Linked DNA regions of Homo sapiens: all the other regions are linked to region 1. Evidence: promoter capture Hi-C in 16 types of primary human blood cells and fetal thymus (Javierre and others, 2016). All regions are on one chromosome and are shown on one strand. The core of a region is centred on a gene start or on the middle of the fragment in contact, and the rest is flanking DNA. Distances in the headings are between cores, read along the strand shown. Region 1 holds the start of TDRD12 (tudor domain containing 12). Region 2 holds the start of GPATCH1 (G-patch domain containing 1). Region 3 overlaps GPATCH1 (G-patch domain containing 1).

Region 1 (4,350 bases), core at 276-2,775:
TCCAATAACCCATACCCACCCCTCTGCTCTGGCCTGTCAACTCCTTCCTCCAGCAACGCTTTCCCCTTCACCAATGAGCCCTCACTGGACTCCAAGGGGGAAAAGCAAGGGTCCAGGCGGGCGTCCCTTCCCCGAGGACTAGAACAACGCCCACGCAGAGCCCACGCGGTGAGCGGATAGGGCAACAGAGACTGGGGGCATGAGGGAAGCCCGGACCCATGGGCTGGGGCTGCCCGGGCCACCCGACCCTGTCCAGGCGCCGAGCCTAAGGGCCCCGTGGAGTACGGAGAGCGGGGCCCTGGGGACGCCAGTGTCGCTTGGCCCGGGTGATCGAGCATTCGGAGGAGCAACCAATTCCGCGCTCCTCCAGGTGCATCCCGGAGCACGCCAGGGCCCGTGAAACCCGGGCTCATCCGGGTTCTACCCCAGCTCCCAGCCCGGGGTGCCCCCTGGTGGGGGCGCAGGGAGGGTTCAGGTGGGGGAGGGCGGGGTGGGGTTGGAGTGGAGGTGGGGTGGGCTGCGGCTGGGGTGCAGGTGGGAGTGGAGATGGGGTGGTGGTGGGGTGTGTGGGGCTGAGTGTGGGGGGATGAAATGTTGGGGTGGAGGTGTGAGTGGGGGCGGTGGGAATAAGGATGGGGTGGGGACAGGGGCGAGGGTGTGACTGTGGGGTGGGCAGCGATAAGGAAACGGGTGGGAGCTGGGGCTAGGGTAGGAGTTGGGGGTGTGTGGGGTTGGGAGTGGGATGGGTTGGGGTGGGAGTGGGGTGGGAGTGGGGGCGTGGTGTGGCGGCATGGGATATACGGGGTTGGGATGTGTGGGAGTGGGATGGAGTGTGCAGCAGTGAGATGGGGTGGGGGCATGTGTGAGTGTGGGGGTGGAGCTGGGTGGGAGTGGGTGTGGGAGGATGTGTGGGTTGGGGGAGGAGTGGGCGTGGGGAGTAGGTGTGGGCTGAGAGGGAGTGGACATGGGGGGGATGCGTGGGCTGGGAGGAGTGGGTGTGGAGGGATGTGGAGGCTGGGATGGGGGGAGGGGTGGGGGCTGTGTAGGGTTGGGGTCGGGGGTGGGAGGCTGTGCGGGGCTGCGGTGGGTGTAGGAAGCTGTGCGGAGCTGGGGTGGGGGTGGGAGGCTGTGCGCGGCTGGGGTGGGGGTGGGGGACTGCGTGGGTCTGGCGTGGGTCTGGCTTGGCGGCGCTCACCTTCAGCACCAGGAGCTGGAGCATCCTCCTGGCGCCCGAGGGCAGATGGGCCCCCTCGCCCTGGAAGTCCCCTACCGTCGCGGGTGAGGCTGGCTGCGTCCGCCCCGGCCAGGCCCCCGCCGCGAGTGCGTTCCTTCCCTCCACCTTTAGCGCCTGGGCCCCCCGCGGCAGGTGCCCCACACTCCTCGTCCCCAGGAGCCCTCGCGGACCCCGGGGTCGGCTCGAGGCAATGCGCTCCGTCCTGGCAGTAACCAGCCCCTCGCTGCGGGATCCCTGCCTGCCTGGCCTCGGGCCTCCCGCACCCACCGGATGCCCGCGCACGCTGAGCAGGCCTTGAGGCGTCGGAGACCACGTGGTCCACCCAACGGCCCAACAACGTAAGGCACAGCGCCACGCGGTGGCCAGGAGGACTGACGCGCGGAGGCCCTGGGAGGCCCGGCTAGGGGTCGCGTGATTCTCTCTTTTGCAGCCAGCAGGACTGCCCTGCAGGCCCCAGGGACACTCGCCTGTCCCCCGGAGGGACAGAGGGGCCGCGTGCGGCTGAGTCCGTTGGAAACCACCTTTGCAAAATTGTAACTGAGGAAATTGTGATGGTGAAAGAAATCAGACCTAATCAACTCCATCTTGCCTCTAACCTTTAAGCTGTCCTTGTTTATTCCTGGGCGGAAGCCCAACTAACCTTGGGAAGGAATTCAGTCCATGGTTTGACTCTGAAACAAAATTGATAAGAGCCTGTGAATCCTGAAAATGTGAGATAGGTCTCAGTTCATTTAGAAAGTTTATTTGGCCAGCAGAGCGAGGTGGCTCAGGCCTGTAATCCCAGCGCTTTGGGAGGCGAGGGGTGCGGATCACCTGATAAGGTTAGGAGTTGGAGACTAGCATCCTCGACATGGTGAAACCCCGTCTCTACTAAAAATAGAAAAATTAGCCTGGCATGGTGGGGAGCGCCTCTAATCCCAGCTACTTGGGAGGCTGAGACAGGAGAATCGCTTGAACCCGGGAGGCAGAGGTTTCAGTGAGCTGAGATCAGGCCACTGCACCCCAGCCTGGGCGACAGAGTGAGACTCTGTCTCAAAAAACAAAACAAAACAAAAAATTTTGCCAAGGTTGAGGACAGGCGCCCCTGACACAGGAAGTCCTAACGACATTTGCTAGACGTGGTCGAGGCACAGCTTGTGTTAAAGTTGGAGGGTGTCCAGGTTCTTGGTGTCTTGAAGAAAGAATTTGACAAAAGGCACACACAAAGCAAGGAAGGAATGAAGGGTTTTATTGAAAAAGTACACTCCACAGTGTGGGAGCAGGCCTGAACACAGGGACTCAAAGGCCCGGCAGAATTTCTGTGAATTTAAATACCTTCTGCTTGGGGTACGCCCGATGTAAATGAAGACGGTGAAGTAAAGTTACGAAGTCATTTACTCGGTGTATGCCCTATGGAGAGGGTATTTCCCCTTATAGCTGAAGCGTGAATCGGCCTTATGTTCCCTACCTCCAGACCCTATTTTCCTGCCTCACTTGGTCTTTTACATTTTAGGGAGGCATGAGACAACAATCCTTGAATCAGCTCAGTGGATCAGCTGACACCACCCACACCGATAATCTGCCTCAACCAGTTCTGCCAAACCAACCAGGAAGAGTAAATAGCAAGAAAAACTCCAACAACCTCTGATTCCATCTTCAACCTGGCCAATCAGCACTCCCCACTTCCCAAGCTCCTACCCGCCCAATTGTCTTTAAAAACTCTGTTCCTCAAATGCTCGGAGAGACTGATTTGAGTAATAATAAAACTCCAGTCTCCCACACAGCCGGCTCTGCGTGAATTACTCTTTCTCCATTGCAATTCCCTGTCTTGATAAATTGGCTCTGTCTAGGCAGCGGGCAAGGTGAACCCATTAGGTGGTTACAAGTTCATTATTTTATTTTTAAAGAGACAGGATATGGCTCTCTTGCCCAAGCTGGAGTGCAGTGGCACAATCATGGCTCACTGCAGCCTTGAATTCCTGGGCTCAGTTGATCCTCCATCTTCAGCCTCTCAAGTAGCTGGGACTACAGGCATGCACCACCACGCCTGGATAATTTTTTAATTTTTTTGTAGAGATGGGGGTCTCGCTGTGTTGCCCAGGCTGGTGTTGAACTCCTGGGCTCAAGCCATCCTTCCGCCTCAGCCCCCTGAGCAGCTAGGATTACAGGCATGAACCACCACACCAGGCCCTCAGTTGGTCCTTGTTGCCTGCTAAGGGGCCCCTGTCCTCCTGCTTTCTCTAGGCCAGCCTACACCCCTTAAACGCTGTGAGCTGGAAGCCTTGGTGGTGAGGAAGAGTCCTGGACAGTCATGAATCCCTGGGTCTTCGTGGCCTCCTGGCAACATTTCCATTTGATCTGCACCTTTTGGAAAGGTTCCTGGTCCTGGATTTCTTCCCAGCTGGACTTCAACTGGCAGGGCTCTCCGAGTCTAAACGAGTTAATTTGCTAGTAAGGGAACCAACAAGATGACAAAAGACTGCAAGAGTTTGGAGAGAGCATGGAAACTGTGGAGTTATTATTTGGGGAACAGAATGCTCACATAAGCATGCAGTTCTATAAGAAAACTGGATTGCACGAGGTCCCACAGATAACATGCACTTAAACTCTCAGGCAGGATGGTTGCAGAGGAAAGGTGTGTAGCTGCCAGTCGGGAGAAAAACACAGCTGCAAAGTGCGTGATGTTCACCTGTTCCTGAAATTAGGTTGACAAGGCCTCCCCTCCAATCAAGGCACCTGGTATGGCCAACTCACCTGAAAGCTCAAGACCTTGCCAAAAAGAGATGGAAAATGACAGGATCTGATTTAAACAGGAGGTCCTGGCTGGGCGAGGTGGCTCAGGCCTGTAATCCCAGCACTTTGGGAGGCCGAGGTGGGTGGACCACTTGACGTCAGGAGTTCGAGACCAGCCTGGCTAATATGGTGAAGCCCTGTCTCTACTAAATATACAAAAATTAGCCGGGCATAGTGACAAGCACCTGTAATTCCAGCTACACAGGAGGCTGAGGCAGGAGAATCGCTTGAACCAAGGAGGCAGAGGTTGCAGTGAGCTGAGATCATGCCACTGCACTCCAGCCTAGGCAACAGAGCAAAACTCTGTCTCAAAAAATATATAAAATAAAATAAAATAAACAGGA
Region 2 (4,062 bases), core at 301-2,800, 360 kb before region 1:
TCGGAAGACTAGCCTTTCTCAGCCTTTTGTTTCGTTTGTTTGTTTGTTTGTTACAGACAGAGTCTCACTACAATGCCCAGGCTGGTCTCAAACTCCTGACCTCAAGCAATCCTCCCACCTCAGCCTCCCAGAGTGCTGGGATTACAGGTGTGAACCACTGTGCCTGGCCCCTTTCTCAACCTTTTGTAAGCCGAGGGTAGAAGAAGGGCCAGTATCCAGCAGAAGTTTCCACCAGAACTGTTTGTAGGAAATAAAGGGGGCATAAGTGGAGATATCCCAGAAGTACAATCAACCTGGCAGGATGTGGTCAGGGTGAAAAAAGGGAGGGGACCCCCACCAACAGGAGGTCTGCAAATAAATTGTGGCCCAATGATTCCACCATTCTTCCTCTGCCTTCCCTACAGGGCTAGCACAGCCAACAGCCCTTACTGGACACTCAATACATAACTTGCTGAACAAGTCAAGTCGTTAAGTGGAACAGACCAGAAACACAGGAGAGAACCTTGATTCATCTTGCCCCTCACCCCCACATTCCACCAGCAAGTATGGTCAGCTCTGCTTTCAAAATATATCTCCACCCAGACCACTACACACCACCACCACTGCTGTCCCATCCATGCCACCATCATCTCCTGACCTCTTTTTGCTAATCTCCCTGCTTCACTCTTACCCATCCCCAACCAGTGTATTCTCAACATCAAAGATAGAATAACATTAAAAATTGGCCGAGCACAGTGGCTCAAGCCTGTAATCCCTGCACTTTGGGAGGCAGAAGCGAGAGGATCACTTGAAGTCAGGAGTTCAAGACCAGCCTGGGAAACAGAGCAAAACCCTGTCTCTAAAAATCATATATATATCCCTCCCTGTGTAATTTCCCATGACCCTAACCCTAACCCTAATCCTGCACTTAGTACAAGATCCAAACTCTTTACCCTACCAAGTAAGATCCAGCCCCTGTCAGCCCCTCTGACATTCTTTTCTACCTGTCTCCCCCGCTGTCATCTGCTGCAACCATACCCGTCCTGCCTGCCCCTCAATTTCCTAAACTGGCTCCCACTTCAGGGCCTTTGCCACTTTATGTTCCTTCTGCCTGAAATGCTTTCCCTCCAGATTTGCTCATGGTTGTTTTCTTCCTCGGTTTCAAGTCTGAGCTCAAACGTCCTCTCTCGGGGAAGACACTGCCTGAGCACCCCCCGCTCTCACACTAGCTATTCCGTCATTTTCTTGTTTCTATCTCGCCGCCCCCTTGTTCGGCCACGCTTGTGTCTCCCGTCCCTGTAAACCTCTCTCTGTCGCTGCAGAAGGTGAGCACCCCGAGAGCGCGGCTAACGCCTCCCTCGTCGCCGTGTTCCCAGCGCTGGGAACGATCTAACAATGGTCCAGCACCGACTTGTGCTTTTGTGGCCCGAATCCTGGGCCCTTGGCCTGTTTTCCACAGGCTCCGCCGGCCCACGCGGCCCGCACCTTCTTCCAGAGGCTCCAGCCCGGTCCCATAGCTGACCAGATCTTCTTCGCTGTCACTGTCCCGCGCCGCCATCCTGCTCTTCCGGGCCCCGCCCCCTCGCTACGGCGGCCTTGGCAGGCCAAACGCCTTTCCTCTTTCTCCTCCGCGAACCCCGGTGATGCTGGAAGGCTGGGTCCGCGGGCGGGGGAAGGTGTCCTAGCGGCCCGAGCCTGCGCTCCGGATTCTCAGGCCCATCCTGTGGTAGGCCGTCCCAGGCAGGAGTTGCCTCGGAGGATTTGGCAGCCACGACATCCCATCCTAGCCCCGCGATGTGCGGGTGAGGAGGAGACTCCTGGCATAAGCTGGAAGCCACCCAACTGTTCCCTGCGAGGCGACACCGATGCCTGCCCAGCCCCCTACCCCCGTCCCTCGCGCCAGCCCCCTGCCTTGGCAGCAGTCACTGCCCAGCCCCGTCCACTCCCACCGCCCACCCAGCCACCTCCAGGGAAATGGCTGAGCTCCCAGATTTCATGCTCGCCCCGTGGGGCTTCGCTTTATTTTTATTATTATTATTTTTTACTTTTATTTTGGGTTCAGGGGTACATGTGCAAGTTTGTTATATAGGTAAATTGCATGTCGCAAGGGATTTGGGTTACAGATTATTTCCTCCCCAGGTAATAAGCATAGTACCCAATAGGTAGTTTTTCCGATCCTCACCCTCCTCGTACCTTCCACCCTCAAGTAGGTCCACCCTCAAGTAGGCCCTGGTGTTATTCCCTTTTTTTTTTTTTTTTTTTTTGAGACAGAGTCTCGCTCTGTCGCCCAGGCTGGAGTGCAGTGGCCGCGATCTCAGCTCACTGCAACCTCCGCCTCCCAGATTCAAGTGATTCTCCTGCCTCAGCCTCCTGATAGCTGGGATTATAAGCGTCCACCCCACCACGCCCTGCTAAATTTTTGTTTGTTTGGTTGGTTGGTTGTTGTGGTGGTTTTTTTTTTTTTTTTCTTGAGACAGAGTTTCACTCTTGTTGCCCAGGCTGGAGTGCAATGGCACGATCTCGGCTCACCTCAACCTCCGCCTCCCGGGTTCAAGCGATTCTCCTGCCTCAGCCTCCCTAGTAGGTGGGATTACAGGCATGCACCACTATGTCTGGCTAATTTTGTAATTTTTTTTTTAGTAGAGACGGGGTTTGTCCATGTTGGTCAGGCTGGTCTCGAACTCCCCACCTCAGGCGATCCATCCACCTTGGCCTCCCAAAGTGCTGGGATTACAGATGTGAGCCACCGCACCCGGCCATTTTTTTTTTTTTTTTTTTTTTTTTTTGTATTTTTAGTAGAGACTGGGTTTCACCATGTTGGCCAGGCTGGTCTTGAACTCCTGACCTCAAGTGATCCACCCGCCTCGGCCTCCCAAAATGCTGGTATTACAGGCGTGAGCCACTGCGCCTGGCACCTGTCATTCCCTTCTTTATGTCCATGTGTGCTCAATGTTTAGCTCCCACTTATACGTGAGAACATGCAGTATTTGGTTTTCTGTTCCTGCATTAGTTTGTTTAGGATAATGGCCTCCAGCTGCATCTATGTTGCTGCAAAGGACATGGTCTTGTTGTTTCTTTTTTTTTTTTTTTTTGAGACGGAGTTCGCTCTGTCCCCCAGGCACGCCATTCTCTTGCCTCAGCCTCCCGAGTAGCTGGCACTACAGGCGCCTGCCACCACACCCAGCTAATTTTTTGTATTTTTAGTAGAGGCGGGGTTTCACCGTGTTAACCAGGATGGTCTCGATCTCCTGACCTCGTGATCCGCCCATCTTAGCCTCCCAAAGTGCTGGGATTACAGGCATGAGCCACCACGCCTGGCCAGTCTTGTTCTTTTTTTATGGCTGTGTAGTGTTCCATGGTGTATGTGGACCATATTTTCTTTATCCAGTCCACCATTTGTGGGCATGTAGGTTGGTTCCATGTCTCTGCTATTGTGAGTAGTGCCTCAATGAATATATGCATGCATTTGTCTTTATGGTAGAACAACTTATATTCCTTTGGGTATATACCCAGTAATGGGATTGCTGGGTCTAATGGTAGTTCTGTTTTAAGTTCTTCAGGAAATCTCCCAACTGCTTTCCAGTTGTAATTGTAATTTAATTGTAATTTTCTTTTTTTTTTTTTTTTTTAGTTTATTTTCTTTGTCTAGACAGAGTCTCACTCTGTTGCCCAAGCTGGAGTGCAATGGTGCGATCTCGTCTCACTGCAACCTCCAACTCCTGGGTTCAAGCGATTCTCCTGCCTCAGCCTCCTGAGTAGCTGGGACTACAGGCGTGCGCCACCACACCTGGCTAATTTTTGTATTTTTTTAGTAGAGACGGGGTTTCGCAATGTTGGCAAGGCTGGTCTCAAACTTCTCACCTCAGGTGATCCACCCACCTCAGCCTCCCAAAGTGCTGGGATTATAGGCATGAGCCACCTTGCTCATAGATCCTCTATAGACAGAGGATCTCTGTCTATAGAGACCCTGTCTCTAAGGGGAAAAAAAAAATAAAAAAGATATGAAGCAATTAGCCAGGTTTAGTGACAGTACTTGGGAGGGTGAAACAGGAGGATCACTTGAGCCCAGGAATCAGAGGCCAG
Region 3 (3,904 bases), core at 687-3,186, 390 kb before region 1:
AAAAAAAAGATCAATTCACTGAAAAGAAATAGCAATCCCAGTTCAAGACCAGCCTGGCCAACATGGTGAAACCCCATCTCTACTAAACATACAAAAATTAGCCAGGCATGGTGGTGCGCACCTGTAGTCCCATCTACTTGGGAAGCTGAGGCAGGAGAATCACTTGAACCCGGGAGGGGAGGCAGAGCTTGCAGTGAGCCGAAATCATGCCACTGCACTCCAGCCTGGGGGACAGACCAAGACTCCATCTCAAAAAAAAAAAAAAAAAAAAAAAGAGAGAAATAGCAATCCTAAATGTATATACACCTAAGAAGTGCACTTCAAAATACATAAGGCAAAAATAACTTTGGAATACAGTTTGACAGCTTCTTATAAAGTTAAATATACATGTACATATTTTCCAGGATTCCCACTACTAGGTTTGTACTCTACAGAAATGAAAACTTATATTCACACAAAAACTTGCACATGAATGCTCCCAGCAGCTTTACTTGTTATAGCCAAAAGTTAGAAACAAGCCAAATGGCCTTTAAGGGGAAATGGATCAATAGTTGGCTGCCTCTGCTGGTGAGTCACGAGGAGAAAGTGTCACCAAAGAGAAAAGCAAGGGCCACACTCAGCGTGGCAAAGAGAATCTGGAAGCCCCAAATACCTGATTTGCGGATAATTCTGGTGCATGCTCTTCCTCTTTGTTTACTAAGGGGCTGGACTGTTGTTTAGGTGGCTCGGCTTTTGATCTAGCCAAACTTAAAAATTCACTAATGGAATCTTCTTTCTTTTCGTGTTTAGAGGTATCCCATCTGGATGGTTTTCTTGATTCTGAAAGGCAGGACATAGATATAAACTCCAGCATTAGCAAGGAAAAGGCCAGTTCTTCACCACTGCTCTTTCATTCACTCAGAATGTCAGCGTGCCTACTAGGGGCCTGGCACTGTGTAGGGTCCTGGGGAGGTAGGTGGCAGAGGCAGAGACAGAGCCCCAACCCCAAAGAGTAAACATCTGGACCATTACAACATGAGCTAAGTTATTAGTAAGAGTAATTCCCTCAATGGAGGGAGAATATGCACCATTCACATTGTTAGGACTAAACTACCCTTTAATTCTGTCTTCCTACAGGCTAGGGGTTGAGGCCCTGGTCAATCAGAGACCCCGGGGACGCCCTACTCACTGTCGGGACCTCGGTGCTGTGATACTTTTTCACTTGATGCTTGAGTGGTGGGCAAGGAAGCTGTCTCTGGGAGCGTCAGAAAGTTGAAGACTGAGTACTTGTCACGCTTCACTCTTGGTAAGCCAACTAAAGTTGAACTGGGAATTGAAAAAAGAATCATTTTAGTAACAACCAGTAGGACAAAATCCACCTCCTGAAAAGCTTTCCATCTCAAGTTTTCCACCTCTTCTGCATGACTAAAAAGTCTCCTAAGATGCTTTCACTTCTCAAAGCAGTTCGAGAATCTGGGTGACTGATTTTAGGTCCCATGAGATTTTCCTTATTATGATAAGGACAAGAATTTAACTTTCAAAATGGATTTCCATTAAGGAAAAGCTCCACTGATAAAAATATACCTAAAGTTTCTGACAGTCTCTGGTTTGACCACATATGCTATCTTTTTGTTTTGTTTTTTTTTCTCTTGAGATTGAGTCTCGCCTTGTCACCCAGGCTAGAGTGCAATGGCACAATCTTGGCTCACTGCAACCTCCGCCTCCCAGGTTCAAGCAATTCTCCTGCATCAGCCTCCCAAATAGCTGGGACTATAGGCACGCACCACCACGCCCAGCTAATTTTTTGTATTTTTAGTAGAGACGGGGTTTCACCATGTTGGTCAGGCTGGTCTTGAACTCCTGACCTCAAGTGATCTGCCTGCCTCAGTCTCCCAAAATACAGGGATTACAGGCGTGAGCCATTGCACCCGGCCTACTATCTTGAAGTGTTCTGTTTGTTTGTTTGTTTGTTTGATTTTTTAGAGATGGGGTCTTACTATGTTACCCGGGCTGGCCTCGAACTCCTGGGCTCAAGCGATCCTCCTGCCTTGGCCTCCCAAGCTAGGATTACAAGTGTGCACCACCACACCCCACCTCTTGAAGTGTTATTAATCAAATAAGAAAGTGTTTAACTTTTATAATGATAATTTAAAAACATAAGTAACATTATAAATGTAAACCACATGAGCAGCAACAAGAAGGTGGCAAATGAGAGAGGCATAATGCTTTTGTAACTTGACATATCTGAGTTTCATAGCTTCAATATGGAATAAAGTTTGCTATCCAGATTTTGTTTTAGTAACAAATTATAGAAGTAATTTATCAAAGCAAATCTATAAAATGTGTAGATTTGTATATCCAGTGATATGCAAATAAGTTCATGTAGAAAAAATAAGAATTTATATGAGTATGTAAGGGGAAAATTAGCTTTAATATCAAGAATACATTTTGTACTGATGTAAAGGTTTATCCAACTTACTCTGGATAAGGGTCAGGGACATTAAATCTCTTACATAGAAGCTTGTCAGGGTGCCACTCAAACGTGTCTCGGGTGAGCTTCCCAAACATCTTCATCTTCACAGCCGACTGCTTATCCCCGACATCATTCTGGAAAAAGACATGCATTCTGTTCCATCAAGTGGCCGCACCACTGACCTGACTGCTCTCCCATTTAAAATTTTCAAGCAATCTTCTAGAACTGTGAAAAAAGTTTGTGCTATAACATTTATGCTCCAGTACATTGGAAACTAAGGCATAAAATGGTTTCCTATTCTCCTATACATGTATATTTTGATCTTCTCACCAAGGGATTAAAAATATTTGGCTCGGCCGGGCATGGTGGCTCATGCCTGTAATCCTAGTACTTTGAGAGGCCGAGGCGGGTGGATCACCTGAGGTCAGGAGTTCAAGACCAGCCTGGCCAATATGGTGAAACCCCATCTCTACTAAAAATACAAAAATTAGATGGCTGTTGTGGCGAGCGCCTGTAATCCCAGCTACTTGGAAGGCTGAGGCAGGAGAATCGCTTGAACCCAGGAAGCGGAGGCTGCAGTGAGCCGAGATCACACCACTGCACTCTAGCCTGGGCGACAGAGAGAGACTCCGTCTCAAAAAAAAGGAAAAAACTATTTTGGCTAGGCAGTGCTTTAATATTAAAGTTCACCAGGTAAGGGACATGGTGACAACAGACCTCTTGGTCTCGAGGGACTTCAACCTGATCTGAGTCATCCTCCTCCTTGGCGTGAGTGAACCTGGAGGACAAGGTCGAATGGGAAGATGCGTACAGCAGGGCCGCCCGGGCAAACTCATCCCGCTCACGGCCTCGCTCCCACTCTGTCATGCTGGGGTCCAGACAGCGTTCCAGAGCATCTGCGGGGGCAGAGAACAAGAAGCAGCTTCACTTTTCAGGAAAACATGGGGCTTACAAGAGAACATCTGCTGGGCACCACTGTATCCCTGTATATTTCATAAGTCCTTATCCTTGTTTTTATGACTATGGGAATGGTGAGGTATTTGGCAGGTAATATTGCTGTTTCCTTCAAAATTGTGCTTTTTTAAAAAAAATTTAGGCCAGGCGCAGTTGTTCATGCCTGTAATCCCAGCACTTTGGGAGGCCGAGGCGGGTGGGTCACTTGAGGTCAGGAGTTCGGGACCAGCCTGGCAAACATGGTGAAACCCCATCTCTCTTTTTTTTTTTTTTTTTTTTTCTGAGATGGAGTCTCACTCTGTCTCCCAGGCTGGAGTGCAGTGGCATGATCTCTGCTTACTGCAAGCTCCGCCTCCCACGTTCACACCATTCTCCTGCCTCAGTCTCCCGAGTAGCTGGGACTACAGGCGTCCGCCACCATGCCCGGCTAATTTTTTGTATTTTTAGTAGAGACGGGAAACAAAAAATTACCAGGCGTGGTGGCACATACCTATAGTC

Evidence for each region. The method cuts DNA at HindIII sites, captures the fragments that hold promoters and counts their contacts. A CHiCAGO score of 5 or more calls a contact.
Region 2: a contact is called between the fragment with the promoter of GPATCH1 here and the fragment with the promoter of TDRD12 in region 1, in 1 of 17 cell types (total CD4 T cells). The highest score is 5.0, in total CD4 T cells.
Region 3: a fragment that was not itself captured here is called in contact with the fragment with the promoter of TDRD12 in region 1 in 1 of 17 cell types (erythroblasts); the score reaches 6.1 in erythroblasts.

What each region holds. Positions count from the first base shown.
Region 1 is chr19:32,716,942-32,721,291 of GRCh38, reverse strand. TDRD12 (tudor domain containing 12) reads right to left here and starts at 1,525. Exons shown (of 33, transcript NM_001366102.1): 1 at 1,196-1,525. The coding sequence starts at 1,219. The HindIII fragment of the contact is 20,000 bases long and covers 1-4,350 here.
Region 2 is chr19:33,078,669-33,082,730 of GRCh38, reverse strand. GPATCH1 (G-patch domain containing 1) reads right to left here and starts at 1,550. Exons shown (of 20, transcript NM_018025.3): 1 at 1,465-1,550. The coding sequence starts at 1,537. RefSeq lists an enhancer at 1,326-1,655. The HindIII fragment of the contact is 10,253 bases long and covers 1-4,062 here.
Region 3 is chr19:33,111,168-33,115,071 of GRCh38, reverse strand. It overlaps GPATCH1 (G-patch domain containing 1), which reads right to left. Exons shown (of 20, transcript NM_018025.3): 12 at 3,170-3,348; 13 at 2,459-2,586; 14 at 1,169-1,305; 15 at 653-819. Among named protein-coding and RNA genes, the nearest start is that of WDR88, 19 kb to the left of the region's middle. The HindIII fragment of the contact is 1,130 bases long and covers 1,372-2,501 here.